3 separate regions of the Homo sapiens genome follow, and regions 1 and 3 are each linked to region 2. The links are contacts of gene promoters, found by promoter capture Hi-C in blood cells and fetal thymus (Javierre and others, 2016). All regions are on one chromosome and are shown on one strand. Each heading gives the region's core, a stretch centred on a gene start or on the middle of the fragment in contact. The rest is flanking DNA. Distances are from core to core; before and after follow the strand shown. Region 1 overlaps XKR5 (XK related 5). Region 2 holds the start of DEFA5 (defensin alpha 5). Region 3 has its middle 17 kb from the start of GS1-24F4.2.

Evidence for each region. The method cuts DNA at HindIII sites, captures the fragments that hold promoters and counts their contacts. A CHiCAGO score of 5 or more calls a contact.
Region 1: a contact is called between a fragment that was not itself captured here and the fragment with the promoter of DEFA5 in region 2, in 1 of 17 cell types (total B cells). The highest score is 5.4, in total B cells.
Region 3: a fragment that was not itself captured here is called in contact with the fragment with the promoter of DEFA5 in region 2 in 3 of 17 cell types (total B cells, naive B cells and fetal thymus); the score reaches 6.8 in total B cells.

The regions. Positions count from the first base shown.
Region 1 is chr8:6,826,369-6,830,985 of GRCh38, reverse strand. The region is part of intron 2 of XKR5 (XK related 5); the gene reads left to right. Among named protein-coding and RNA genes, the nearest start is that of XKR5, 6.8 kb to the left of the region's middle. The HindIII fragment of the contact is 2,266 bases long and covers 563-2,828 here.
Region 2 is chr8:7,053,881-7,058,019 of GRCh38, reverse strand. DEFA5 (defensin alpha 5) reads left to right here and starts at 1,281. Exons shown (of 2, transcript NM_021010.3): 1 at 1,281-1,494; 2 at 2,477-2,716. The coding sequence starts at 1,323. The coding sequence ends at 2,589. The HindIII fragment of the contact is 6,427 bases long and covers 1-1,819 here.
Region 3 is chr8:6,850,359-6,855,076 of GRCh38, reverse strand. No RefSeq gene overlaps it. Among named protein-coding and RNA genes, the nearest start is that of GS1-24F4.2, 17 kb to the right of the region's middle. The HindIII fragment of the contact is 1,210 bases long and covers 1,917-3,126 here.

The sequences.
Region 1 (4,617 bases), core at 446-2,945, 230 kb after region 2:
CCTTCTGAGGCTGTGTGGACCCTCAGGCCTCATGGAATCCACTGCCTTCCTCAGAGATGAGGGCTGCCAGGGGACCACGGTGTGTCCAAATTCATGCTGCTGGTATTTCACAGTGGACCCCACACTGTCTTTCCCATGCACTCTTAATTTTCTTAAGTGATGCCATGATTTTCTGGTGTATATAAAAAAACGAACTTGAATAATCTGGTATATACTAGTGAAATCATATAGATAAGTGAAGAGATACATGAAAATTATAAATTAGGAAAAACCATTAGTCATATATATTTATTCTTGTTTTGAAAAAGAAGTTAAGATGACTTTAAAAATACACATCCTTAAAAGAACAAAAAAGAAAAGAAAAGAAATGAGAAAGGCCAGGTATCGAGATGAAATGTTAGAAAACAAGATAGAGCCAGAATGCACAGCTATCGGAAGCGGGTCACAATTTGGCCCTAAGGTTTATAACAGCCAGTGCAAGCATAAAGGCCGCAAGATTTGCAGTGTTTCTCAGGTTAAACATGAACCAAAAAACAGAAATTTACTTCCATAGAGGAAAGCTTTGAAAGTTAAAATAGACAGCAGTGGATCCATTCCTCATCCTGAAACTAGCACATAGGGTTCAAAGACAACACTGAGTGAAGCAGTATTTTTAGTGAGGCAATCCAGCTTTCCAAATTGCAATTCTAGAAAAGGACCTGTAGGGGGAGCCAAAACAATTGCGTTTGGCACAATTTTGAATTGCCTAAGAATAGGTCACTTTGAGTGTCCTCATCACAAAATACAAAAGAATCTGCTAACTGAGAATCCAGTAAAACACAAAGTTGCTTATAAAAATGCAAGGATTGAGGCCTGGCGCGGTGGCTCACGCCTGTAATCCCAGCACTTTGAGAGGCCGAGGCAGGCGGATCACGAGGTCAGGAGATCCAGACCATCCTGGCTAACACGGTGAAACCCCGTCTCTACTAAAAATACAAAAAATTAGCCGGGCGTGGTGGCGGGCGCCTGTAGTCCCAGCTACTTGGGAGGCTGAGGCAGGAGAATGGCATGAACCCGTTAGGCGGAACTTGCAGTGAGCCGAGATTGCATCACTGGACTCCAGCTTGGGTGACAGAGCGAGACTCCGTCTCAAAAAAAAAAAAAAAAAAAAAAAAAAAAAGCAAGAATTTGGCCTGGCGTGACGGCTCACACCTGTAATCTCAGTGCTTTAGGAGGTGGAGGCAGGCTGATCTCTTGAGGCCAGGAGTTCTAAACCAGCCTGGCCAACACTGTCGAAACCCCATCTCCACTAAAAATAGACAAATTAGCCAGGCGTGGTCACGCACACCTGTAATGCCACCTACTCAGGAGACTGAAGCATGAGAATCGCTTGAACCTGGGAAGTAGAGGTTACAGTGAGCTGAGATCACGCCACTGCACTCCAACCTAGGCAACAGAATGAGACTCAATCTCAAATAAATAAATAAATATAAAAAGGCAAGGATTTAAGCCATAAGTGTATTCTTTTTAACGTTCCCAATAATACATACTATGTTCATTTTAAGTCTGACTCTGTTCAAGAGAACCTGACATTGGTGACCACTTATTTAAACAAAGACCATTACTTTCTTCTACTTAGGTTTTTTACTTACACTTTAATACTGTATGTTACCAACATCTTTTTCATCTTTCTTTTTAAGCCCACAAATCCACTTGTAAATGCAGCATGAGATGACAGAAGAAGGCCTATCTCATCCTTAGCATGCACCTTGGTTTAGCAATTTTTCTTTAGTGAAAGTTCAAGGTTGTCAAAAGGAAAGTTAAGGTAAACTCTAAAGGTATGTAAGACAGGTTCAGCATAAATGGGTGGAGATTTAATATTTAAAAGTATATAAAATATAGCCCTAGCCCTGGAGGGCCCAGTCCTGCCTCAGGATCCCTCGAGTGAGGCTTGAAGGCTGTTGCGATTTCCATCAATGTAGGGAGGGAACAGGCGTTTCCGACACAGCAAGCTGCAGCCGCTGGTGCAAAGACATAGATGCGTGCCAGAAGTGGTGTATATGGGAAATTAGGATGAGGTTCTTGAGACTAAAGGGTAAGAATTTCCTAGATGGCAGGAATGTGGCAGGAGATAAATGGGCTGGACCATGAAGAAACTTTTCTACTGGATTAAGGAGTTTGGATTTTATCCTCAGGCATTGGAGACCTGTTGGAAGGGTTTGAGCAAAGGAATAATATGGGCAAATGAGCCTGTAGACAGATGGCACCAGGGACAATAAAATGCAACAGAGTTGGGAGGGACGGGGTCCATGCAGGCAGCCAGAAATCCAGGCAAGTGCTGATAAGGACCTGGAATGATGCAGCGACTGTGAGGACAGATGTCGGACACCATCTCATAGGACCTAGTGACCAAATCCCCACGCTCTCCATCCCGCCTCAGCTTCCTCCCCGGCTTCCCTAGTGGCTGTCCAGGGGTCTCAGCCTGAATTTCTCCCTCTGCAATGGGTTCGAGACAGCTCGTTTCAGAAAACCGGGCTAGTCACCTTCCCACTGGTCCTCTGTTTCTTACAAGAGTAGCCCCACAACTCAGCCTCTCCTGGCCCCCGCCTTACCAAGCACCAGATATTCGCTATTCCCAGACATGGACCTTCATTTCAGTGCCTTGTACCCTGTGCCACTGACCCCAGACACTCCTTTAGGCTCTTCCTACCATCTACCTGTCCAGAGTTTGCCTGTCCTCCTCTTCCAGGAAGCATTCCCTGACCACCTTATTCTCTCTGCCTGTGACTCTGATTCCACCACTACCCAAGCCACTCATGTTGATACTTATATTTCTTCCTCTTGAAGCTTTTCGCATTTGTATGTTTTCTTTCCACACTGAATCTTAGGTTTCTAAAAGACATCTTTCATTTCACTTCCCCCCTTTTCTTTTTTTTCACGAGAGTCTTCTGCCTCTGTCACCCAGGCTGGAGTGCAGTGGCATAATTATGGCTCACTTGCAGCCTTGAACTTCTGGGCTCAAGTGATCCTCCCATCTCAGCCTCCTGAGTAGCTGGGACTACAGGCACCCACCACTATCCCAGCTCTTTGTTTTGTTTTGTTTTGTAGACATGGAGTCTCATTATGTTGCCAGGGCTGGTCTCAAACTCCCAAGCTCAAGCAATCCTCCTGCCTTGGCCTCCCAAAAAGCTGGGATTCATTTCTCTTACTTCGCCTGTGGTCTGTAGCAGGTGGGCCTCTCAAAGCCCAAGAAAAATGCATGTTGAACAAACAAAGCTTTCTGGAAGAGCAAGAAGAGGAAACTACCCCATGTCAGGAACAAATGATTTGAGAGTGAAAAGAAAACTACTGCCTGCCCTCATGGTTACATTTTTTAGTGTCATATGTTTTTCTTAACATTAAGTTTATGTCAGGAATCAAGACACAGTAAGAAATGGGTTCACTCCAGGATTCCAAATCATGAAAAAGGAAAGTTGTTTTTCTTAGACATCTGTCCTGGGATCTCAGCACCATGAATAAAGCCATTTCAAAGAGGAGTCCCCGAATCTTCTGCTCTGGACATAGAAATGTTTGCCACCCATCAGGGTCCAGCTTGTCACCTGCCAGTCAGAGCCTTAGGGGTCTCTACAGGGAGTTTTGCAGGTGACCTTCGAGATGCATCCAGCTTGGCTTCAGGAGTTGCTAAATTGAAGTGACCTCTAGTTCTTAAATTGAACAAGACAGGGAAGCAGAATCCAGTGGGTTTGCTGGGCAGCAGGCTCGTGTGCAGGCGGCTGTGGTCATCTCCTTATTGCTGCTGCTAGGTAGACCCAGAGAGGAATTGGTGGGTGGTGGCGAAATCTGACCTCCAGGTGAGACTCGAAGCCTGAGAGCCCGCTGGTGTGGTGGGGAGTGGCTTCGTGGTCATGGGTTCTATGTGGATCTTCAGGTTGTAAGGAAGGTGGTCTGTGCCACTTTCTACTTATGAGATGAAGTTTCCAGTAAAGGTGCCTGGCATAGGCTCATGGGAAACAGACTGAAGCAAGGACATGTTCTGACTTCTTTCTTGTTGCTTGATTCCTTTTCCGAGAGCCTCGGAGGACCACCCAGGCTGGGTGAGCAGATGTGTCCCCGTGGCCCTGGGCCACCCCATCCTGTAATCCACAGTGCAGAGATCAGCAGCTCTCTCCGCTGCCTGGTTCTCGGCTTCCACCCACCCTTGCTGGTGTCCCTTTCGTATCCAGGCCCCTTAGTGGGAACAGTCCCCAGGGTGCTGTCCTTGGTCTATGCTGTCTTCACACAGTCTCTTCTGGCCACTTCCAGTCCCTCAACCACAACTGGTCATCCAGATCTCTCCTTATGGGGGCTCCACCCATCCTCACATTCCTCACTGCTGAAGAAATTCATATCGTGGCCAATCCAGCACTCCTCACCTGGCTTATTTCCGTCGGTAGCACCACCATTTCCAAGTCATTTAGGCCTGAAACCTCAAAGCCACTGCAACTTCCCTCATCTCCCCTGTTCAGTCATCAAATCCTGATCTCCAACTCCACTATTTCCTGCACCTGCTCCCTACTTTCCATTCCTAGGACTCCCTTCACCAATTACTGCTGGAAGTATTCTATTAGCTCTGTTTCCTCCTGATGTTCCTATCCCCTG
Region 2 (4,139 bases), core at 32-2,531:
GTAGTAATATCTTAAAAATGTGTAAGATATAGTCTCTTTTTTTTTTTTTAAGAGAAAGGGGTCTCACTATGTTTTTAGGCTGGTATCGAACTCCTGGTCTCCAGTGATCCTCCCACCTCAGCCTCTCAAATAGCTAGAAATATAGGCATGTACCACCATGCTGGCTTAAGATGCATTCTTTGACACAGCAATTCTATTTCTATAAGTTTATCCATATAGGTAAGAGAACATATATACAAGATAATCACTGTAACTTTACTTATTACTGCAAAAGTTTAAAAATAACCAAATTGTAATAATTTTATAATATTTTATCAGTACAAAAAATAAGTGATGGCATATACAAACCCTGGGATAGTATAAGGCTATTAAAATTATAATAGCATTCCATGTATTTTGATATACAAAGTGCCAATGTTACAGGTGAAAAAAGCGAAGTGCAGAATACTATGTGTAACTGTTAATAGTGATGGTTTGCTGGGTCAGAACTGAAGGCCTGGGGGTAGAAATGAGAGCTCATGACTTCTACCTTTTGAATGTTGTTCCTTGTGCATGATTTACAATTTTCTAAAACTAAAAAAAAAATCTCAGAAAGGGGCTGTACGCACCTAAATTACTTTGATATTCCCCAAAGTGGAGAGAAGTACCCGCTACACATTTTATGTGATGCATTCAGATCACACCAACTCCTTGAACTAAATCCGAATTTTTATTTTAATCTGATAAACTTGGCCTACTATTTTACTGAACTCATTTCCCCTATAGCCTGATAAGGTCATTGACCTCTCCATACTGGCACCAGCGGGAGACTACTCACCTCGAGATCTCAAAAGCCTCCTACATGAGGTTAGTAATATCCCTGAATCCTGCAATGAATTAACTCTCTACTCCACTGAGTCCCAGGTCTGCCCCCAGAGAGTCATCCAGAGAGTACCAGGGACCATCTTCAGAAAACAAGAGGCATTTGATCCCCAAACTTCTTGAATGAAAGCGCTGTTGTTTTTCTTTTTTGAATATATAAAAGTAAATACTCAAGCAGATGGGAAACAGAACAGGATAGTAATACCCTTATCATCATTAACACCTTGGATCAAGAAGAGGCATTAAGCATACAGACTCACGCTTTGATGAAAGCTGGGAGAAAGAGGAGCATCAAAGGGATCTTGAGAACAAAGGCAGTCCTTCCCCTCCCAATCACATGCCCACCTCCTCTCACTGCAGCTTCTGTCTCAGGTCTTCTCCCAGCAGAGCTATAAATCCAGGCTGACTCCTCACTCCCCACATATCCACTCCTGCTCTCCCTCCTGCAGGTGACCCCAGCCATGAGGACCATCGCCATCCTTGCTGCCATTCTCCTGGTGGCCCTGCAGGCCCAGGCTGAGTCACTCCAGGAAAGAGCTGATGAGGCTACAACCCAGAAGCAGTCTGGGGAAGACAACCAGGACCTTGCTATCTCCTTTGCAGGAAATGGACTCTCTGCTCTTAGAACCTCAGGTAGGAGACATCAATCTTGCACATCTGCAAAATCTAGAAAAAAAGGATTGGAGAAAGGATCTGGAGTCAAGTGTGGAAAGGTCTACCTCACTTGAGTGACTTTACTTAATCTTCCTGGACCTTGATTTTCTCATCTATAAATTAATCAGTGAGAACCAAATAAATCTAAAAGATTTTCTTTTTTCTAAGACTTTCAGTTCCAAGATATTTCTGTGAAATTTGCTACTTTTAAGATAGAAAGAGCTACACTGACTAGTTCTTTGTAGATCTAAATGGGCAGACTTAGTTATATAGAGAGTGTTTTACTTTGTCCATTGGAAAAGCTTTTAGAACCTAGAGAGGAACCTATAGGTGTGTTTTGATGTAGGCTAATAGGCTTGATTAAATCTTTCTACAATACATCCTTAGATCAAAACATCATATTGTGTCTCATACATATACACAATTATTGTTTGTCAATTAAAACAAGTAAATATGTAAAATGTTAAAAAAAAAAAAAAAAAAAAAAAAAGGAGAGACAGAGAATGAAGAATTTGAATTTGGAAAGTCTTCAAAGACTCCTTGAGCACCAAAGTATTTGGTCCATGACATTAGCATGCACAATGCGGCATTTCAGAAACTGATTCAGGTGCTTTAGGGAGCCTTGTTAGGACCTGGAAATCACACATGGAGGTCAAGATTAGGCGTGTGGATGAAGCAGAATGAAGAGTAGGTAACCCTGAGGTTGAGAGGTATATTGTTGGACCAGGGAGCAGGTAATAAATACATCCTGGATAGACTCACATGGGGAAAAAAACTATGATCTTGCATGACTAACACATAGCTAGTAAGATTTCTTGTCACTTACGACAAAGACATGAATTTTCTCCATCCTAACATGACTGATACAGTGTCTCTTATTTAGACTATCTCAGTTAGTCTGGCTGTGCTTGTCCTTTTTCCCACCTCCCTCGCTGTGCCTGACCCTCTCTTCTTTCCACAGGTTCTCAGGCAAGAGCCACCTGCTATTGCCGAACCGGCCGTTGTGCTACCCGTGAGTCCCTCTCCGGGGTGTGTGAAATCAGTGGCCGCCTCTACAGACTCTGCTGTCGCTGAGCTTCCTAGATAGAAACCAAAGCAGTGCAAGATTCAGTTCAAGGTCCTGAAAAAAGAAAAACATTTTACTCTGTGTACCTTGTGTCTTTCTAAATTTCTCTCTCCAAAATAAAGTTCAAGCATTAAACTTAGTGTGTTTGACCTTTTTAATTTTCTTTTCTTTTTCCTTTTTTTTCTTTTGCTTTGTTATATGGTGGTTTGTATGGTTCCTTTGTATTGAGAATTCTGATCTACATTAAGTTAACTGGTCTTTGCATTCCAATGATGCACAATTTGAGCATCATAGAGCAATAACAAAATAACAAAAATGAATATAATTGGGTTTTTTATTGTTGTTGTTTGAGACAGTGTCTAACTTAGCCACCCAAGCTGGAGTACAGCGGTGCAATCTCGGCTCACTGCAGCCTTGACCTCCTGTGCTCAAATGATCCTCCCACCTCAGCCTCTTGAGTAGCTGGGACTACAGGCATGTGCCACCACACCCTACTAATGGTTTGTATTTTTTTGTAGAGACAGGGTTTCACCATATTGCCCAGGTTGGTCTCGAACCCCTGAGCTTAAGTGATCTGCTCTCCTCAGCCCCCCAAAGTGCTAGGATTACATGCTTGAGCCACCATTCCTGACAGGATATAAGTGTTAATTGGAATAGTTTGAAACTTAAAAATTCAATGCATTCCTAATGATACTCAAAAAGTAGAAGTTTACAATGAGAGGCAAAAAGTGGTTGTTGGCTCAAAGGAAAGATAGATCTAATGGGCTATGTTTACTTGTCCTTTAATTTTAAAAAGTGGGAAAGCATTGCTATACATAATTTTTGAAATTTTAAGCAGATGTGTTAAATATATACACTTTACATTAAGCTTTATTTCACTCTGTTTTGGTGATATATAACTGTATCAACAAGATAGAATAAAATAAAGTTTACTAAGGAAAAAGTTAAAACTGTGCCCAAAACAAGAAAGACTGACAAGCATCAGTGATCTCAATTAATAACCAGATAGAAGAGGAGCTCAGAAGCTGGTGACCATAGAGGACGAGGCCCAATAACCAATGAGACAAATGGTCCCTCACTGGTCCCCAAAAGGTTAATTAGACCAATGTTTAATGAAGGAGTTGGTCTCAACTCTCCATCCCTTCAAGCATATGAACTCTATTTATTATAATAAAGCTATACTCATTTTAATAAAATGCTAGTGAGAAAATATATGTTAATATGTTTTTAATTATGCCAATGAACCAAGTCAATACATCATAATGATAAGAAAATTGGCCATACACTTAGGGCTATGCAAAAACTTAAGAACGACGTATTTGTGAGAAAAACAAGTTTCTAGAATTAAAATTTATATAAAAGACAGGGATTGAACAGTGTCATGACATGACAAAAAAAACCAAACATTTTTATTACAACAACAACAAAAAGTCTCAGCCTGATAATAAATAACAAGTAGTCTGGGTTTGATTCATCTTAGACACATGCAAAGCACTGTTTCCTGATCAAGGGTCAGCTATTTGGCCCTAGACTTGCAACCTCGTTTAGTCATTTGGGG
Region 3 (4,718 bases), core at 1,272-3,771, 200 kb after region 2:
GAAACAATGGAAGCCAGACCTAAGATACTAAGAACAGAGAGGAGGACAAAGATTCGAGAAACATTTAGGAGGTAAAAACAGGCAAGGTAAACTTGCTTCGGTGAGTTGTGTGAGGTCAAAGACAAAGACGGCCTCGAAGATCTCCTCCTGCAGTCTGGAAGTCCCATAGGACCAAGAGCAGTTTTCAAGGTGGCGGGAAAAGGTGAAGCCTGCAGTATAGATATGAAGCCCCTGCAGCTCTTAGAGATTCCCGCACATCCAAAATCCCAGGTGTCTGTACTGATCGCCTTTTGCTGCAAGAACAAACGTCCCCAAATCTCAGATTCTGGAAGTCACAAACATTCATGTCGCCATTCACAGTTGGCTCTGTGGCCTCTGCAGCCGGCTCTGGACTGGGCTCAGGGCTGCTCTGTGTGTGGCCCTGTCGGGGACAAATGCTCAGTGAACAGGGGCTGCCTATGACACGCTCTCCCCATGGGAGCTGAGGGCTGAAGGCTGTGGGCTGAGACACATGCTGCCCTTTCTGGAACAGGCACGCAGCCACTGCTTCCTGCTGGTGGACACAAGGCACACTGTCAGGCCCTGTGTCGGCGGGTCAGGGAGTACAGTTTACCTGCTGAGAGCCACTGCCAAGCCACGGCTGAGGGAAGGCATGTTGGAGCAGTGGATTCGCCGTATCTCTTGTTGTCTGAATTCTCATGCCTTGATATCTGGGGACTTGCCCCCTCAGAGTCAGCCAATTCTTAGAGATAGTAGGCAACTCTCCCAGGAGCACCCCTTTCAAATGCAAACCAACCAATCAAAAGTCCACACCCCCAGTTGCCCTCTTCGGGAGGCTCTCATGCTCTGGTCTCTATCCACCAGCCCTTATCTACCCTGGGCCAGGTACCAGACGACTAGGGACACCCTCTGTGCCCCAGAACTGCTGAAATTATTCATACTAGCAAATCCCAAACCTGCTTGCCCTGTCTTCTCATTTCTTCCCATGGAAATCACAAGAAAGGCTCTCGCCCACAGTTCCTTTTGTCTCCATCTACTTCCTAACCCCAGGCTTCCCCATGTGGCCCCCCTGCTCTGTGTGCCCCTCCTGCGATCTGTGGGTCTAACAAACTCCCTTTTCAATGGCACCGTGTCCTGATCCGTTGGCCTCACTGTATTTCTGGTGCTATATTTTAAAGCCAGCAAAACTCTGATTCTATCACAGCATCCTAAAATTTCATATCCTCTTGACACACCAAAAACTCAAATCTAGGAGATGACAGAAGCCTCATTGAACCCAGGTGCCGTATCTGCAGAATGGAAAATTCAGCAGAAGTATCTAGGGCCTACAAAAGGAAAATATATCTTGGGGTCCCCCAACAAATCACTAAGCTAAAGGGAAAGGTCCGGCTGGGAACTGCTTAGGGACAACCTGCCTCCCATTCTATTCAGTCACCCCTCTGCTCACTGAGATGAATACATATCTGATTGCCTCCTTTGGAGAGGCTCATCAGAAATTCAAAAGAATGCAACCATTTGCATTCTTGGAAGCCCTTCCTATCATTTGGAAGCCCCTCCCTGCTTTGTCTTCTCGCCTTTGCTTCAAGTTGTTCTGCCTTTCCAGACCGGACCGATGTTCATCTTGCACATGTTGATTGATGTCTCCTGTCTCCCTAGATTGTGTAAAACCAAACTGTGTTCTGAAGACCTTGGGCACATGTCCTCAGGATCTCCTGAGGCGGTTTCACAGGCACACAACCCCAACTTTGACAAAATAAACTTTCTAAATTAACTGAGACCTGTCTCAGATTTTGGGGGTTCACAGGCCAGATGGAGCATTCCAAACTCACTGCTGTTTCTAGACCAAGGAGTGCAAGGAAGACATTTGAGGCTAAGCAGGGAGTTGATGGACTCCCTGCGGTCAAGTCCTGAAAGCTTTGTCTGAAGGTTGTAGAAAGTCTATGGAGGTGCTTGGACCATGGCTCCCCAGGCAGGTAGGCATTACAAACTGCATCCTGCTCCACTCTTTTCAGTGGGCGTTGCAACTTGACTTGTTTGTTCTTGAAACAAGATAGTGAAAGAACCAGGTGGAGATGATTTAACTTGTGGTCTCCCCTTGGGGAAAGTTTCCTGGAACAAGACATGAAGGGTTGGGGCTGTTTTGAAGGCAGTGGTTCTCCTCCAGTGCAGAAGCCAGCTTCTCTGGCTCCCTGGGATGGGGCCCAGTTCAGAGATCAGATAAACCATGAGAAATGCAGCAGAACAGAATGCGGGCAGTTAGAAACATGTCTTTCTCCCTTTGACAGGCTGTGTGGAAAGACTTAGCAGCTGATAAGAGGGAGAAGCCAAGCGAGGAGGTTGTAGAAGTGCACAAAGACTCCAAGGTTTAGAGACTCAGGAAACACCCATAATTTGAGAAGCACTGAGCCCTACTGTCAATGCAGGCAGAAGCTGCAGTCCTGCCCTGGGATGGATGAGTGATTTTCCCTGCAGGCCGCTCAGTCCCACCACAAATATTTGAGAATAGTGGGGAAGAACAAACAGAGACTTATGTGCCAAGAGACTAATATTTAACAGCTATAAATCAAACTATCACACTGTTGACTAAAACGTGTTCTATCCTCCCACCCTAAACAAATATACTTCCAAGACAACCTGGACCTCCAGGAAAAATGTAGGATCCTTGCACTCCCACAACTCCCGCACCAGAATCAGACAGCACAAAGAGGGCAGGGCCTTGGCTTGCAGCCCCTCCCCTTTCTCTCCCTACAGCCAAGACCATCCTCAGCCTCCAGGGTCTCATGCACTCCCACACAGGACCTCTTGGCTTGCATCTCTAAGCTGTGTCACAGTCTCACAGCAGCCACCACTTGGCCTATGACACACCCTGGGAGCACGTCTCACCTTGGGGTTCCAACCCAAGGAAGAAACTTCCAAAGGCCCTAGACGAAGGCTGGGGGCAAGTAATTCTTAGGTCATAGGAGCCCAGAGAATGATTAATGAGAAGGGACATAGATCTGGCCAGACAGAAGACCTCTTAACCCCAGGCCCGAGAAGAACCCCTCTTGCCTGGGTCTCCAGCTGGTACAGAGACGAGGAAGCCCAAAGAAGTTTCCACTTGGCCCCAAAGGTTGGATTCAGAAAGCTTCCCAGGTTAAGAGAGGGAGTCACGGGATAACCCTGATCCAGCTAAGGTGAAAACGGATTCCTGCAGGAGACAGAGATGCCCTCTGCAGACACCCTCCTACTAGTAAATGGGAAAACAGACACTCAGACCGTGTGTGTGTGTGTGTGTGTGTGCATATGTGGGCGTGGGTGTTTGCAGGTGTGCATGTATATGCATGTGGATGTGTGTGAGTGTATGGGGTGTGCGTGCATGCATGCTTGAGTGTGTGCAGGTGTGCATGTGTATCTGCATGTATATCAGTGTATAAGTGTGCACGTATGCATGTAGGTTTATGCAGGTGTGCATGTATCGACGTGTGCATGTGCAAGTGTATGTATGAGTGTGTGCAAGTGTGCATGTATTTGTGCAAGTGTGCATCTGCATTTGAGGGTACGAGTGTGCATGTAGGTGTGTGCAGGTGTGCATGTGTGTGTATGTGCAGGAATGAGTGTACAGGATGTGTGTGGATATAGGTGTGTGTGTGGGTGTGCATGTGTGTATATGTGCGGGTGCGCATGTGCCGGTGTGATTGTATGGGGTGTGTGCGTGCATGTAGGTGTGTGCAGGTGCACGTGTGTGTATACGTGCAGGGGCACAAGTGCAGGTGTGAGTGTATGGGGTGCATGTGCAGGTAGGTGTGTGCAGGTGTGCATGTGTGTATATGTGCAGGTGTGCATGTGCAGGAGTGTATGGGGTGTGTGTGCATGCAGGTGCAGGAAGTGCAGGTGTGCATGTGTGTATATGTGCAGGTGCGCATGTGCAGGAGTGAGTGTGTGGGGTGTGTGTGCATGTAGGTGTGTGCAGGTGTGCATGTGTGTATATGTGCAGGGGCACATGTGCAGGTATGAGTGTATGTGGTGTGTGTGTGCATATAGGTGTGTTCAGGTATGCATTTGTGTCTATGTGCAAGTGTGCATATGTGTATATGTGCAGGTATGAGTGTATGGGGTGCATGTGCATATGTGTGCAGGTGTGCATGTCTGTATATGTGCAGAGGCACATGTGCAGGTTGAGTGTATGGGGTGCATGTGCATGTAGGTGTGTGCAGGTGTGCATGTGTGTATATGCGCAGGTGTGCATGTGCAGGTGTGTGTATGGGGTGTATGTGCATGTAGGTGTGTGCAGGCAGGCATGTATGTTCATGTGTGCATCTTCCAGTGTGACTGGGTATGCATGTGTGTGTGTGTGTGCATGTATGAGTGCACACATACATGTGCAGCTATGGGTGTGTGCATCTGCATATGTATGGTGGGAAGTGGGTTCTGGTGTGTGGGAATTCCCCTTGCAGTGACCTGCCCTGGGCCCCTGGTCTCCCCTCGCTGAGTTGTCTGTCACCAGCTGTCCTAGAATCTGGCTTTGTGGAACAGGTGGATACTTGGTACTAACTTCTGCAGTGAGCTGACTTCTCACTGCAGAAGTCAGCACCAAGCAGGTTGGTTCTGTGCAGGGCCACAACAGAGATCACCTTCAAATTCTTTAAATGAGAAGTTGACAGACATTTCCATCCCTCTTCTGGCCCTGGCTGTCTGTGTTCCCTGAGGCCCATTGACCTCTGTGGTCAGGTATGTAGGCC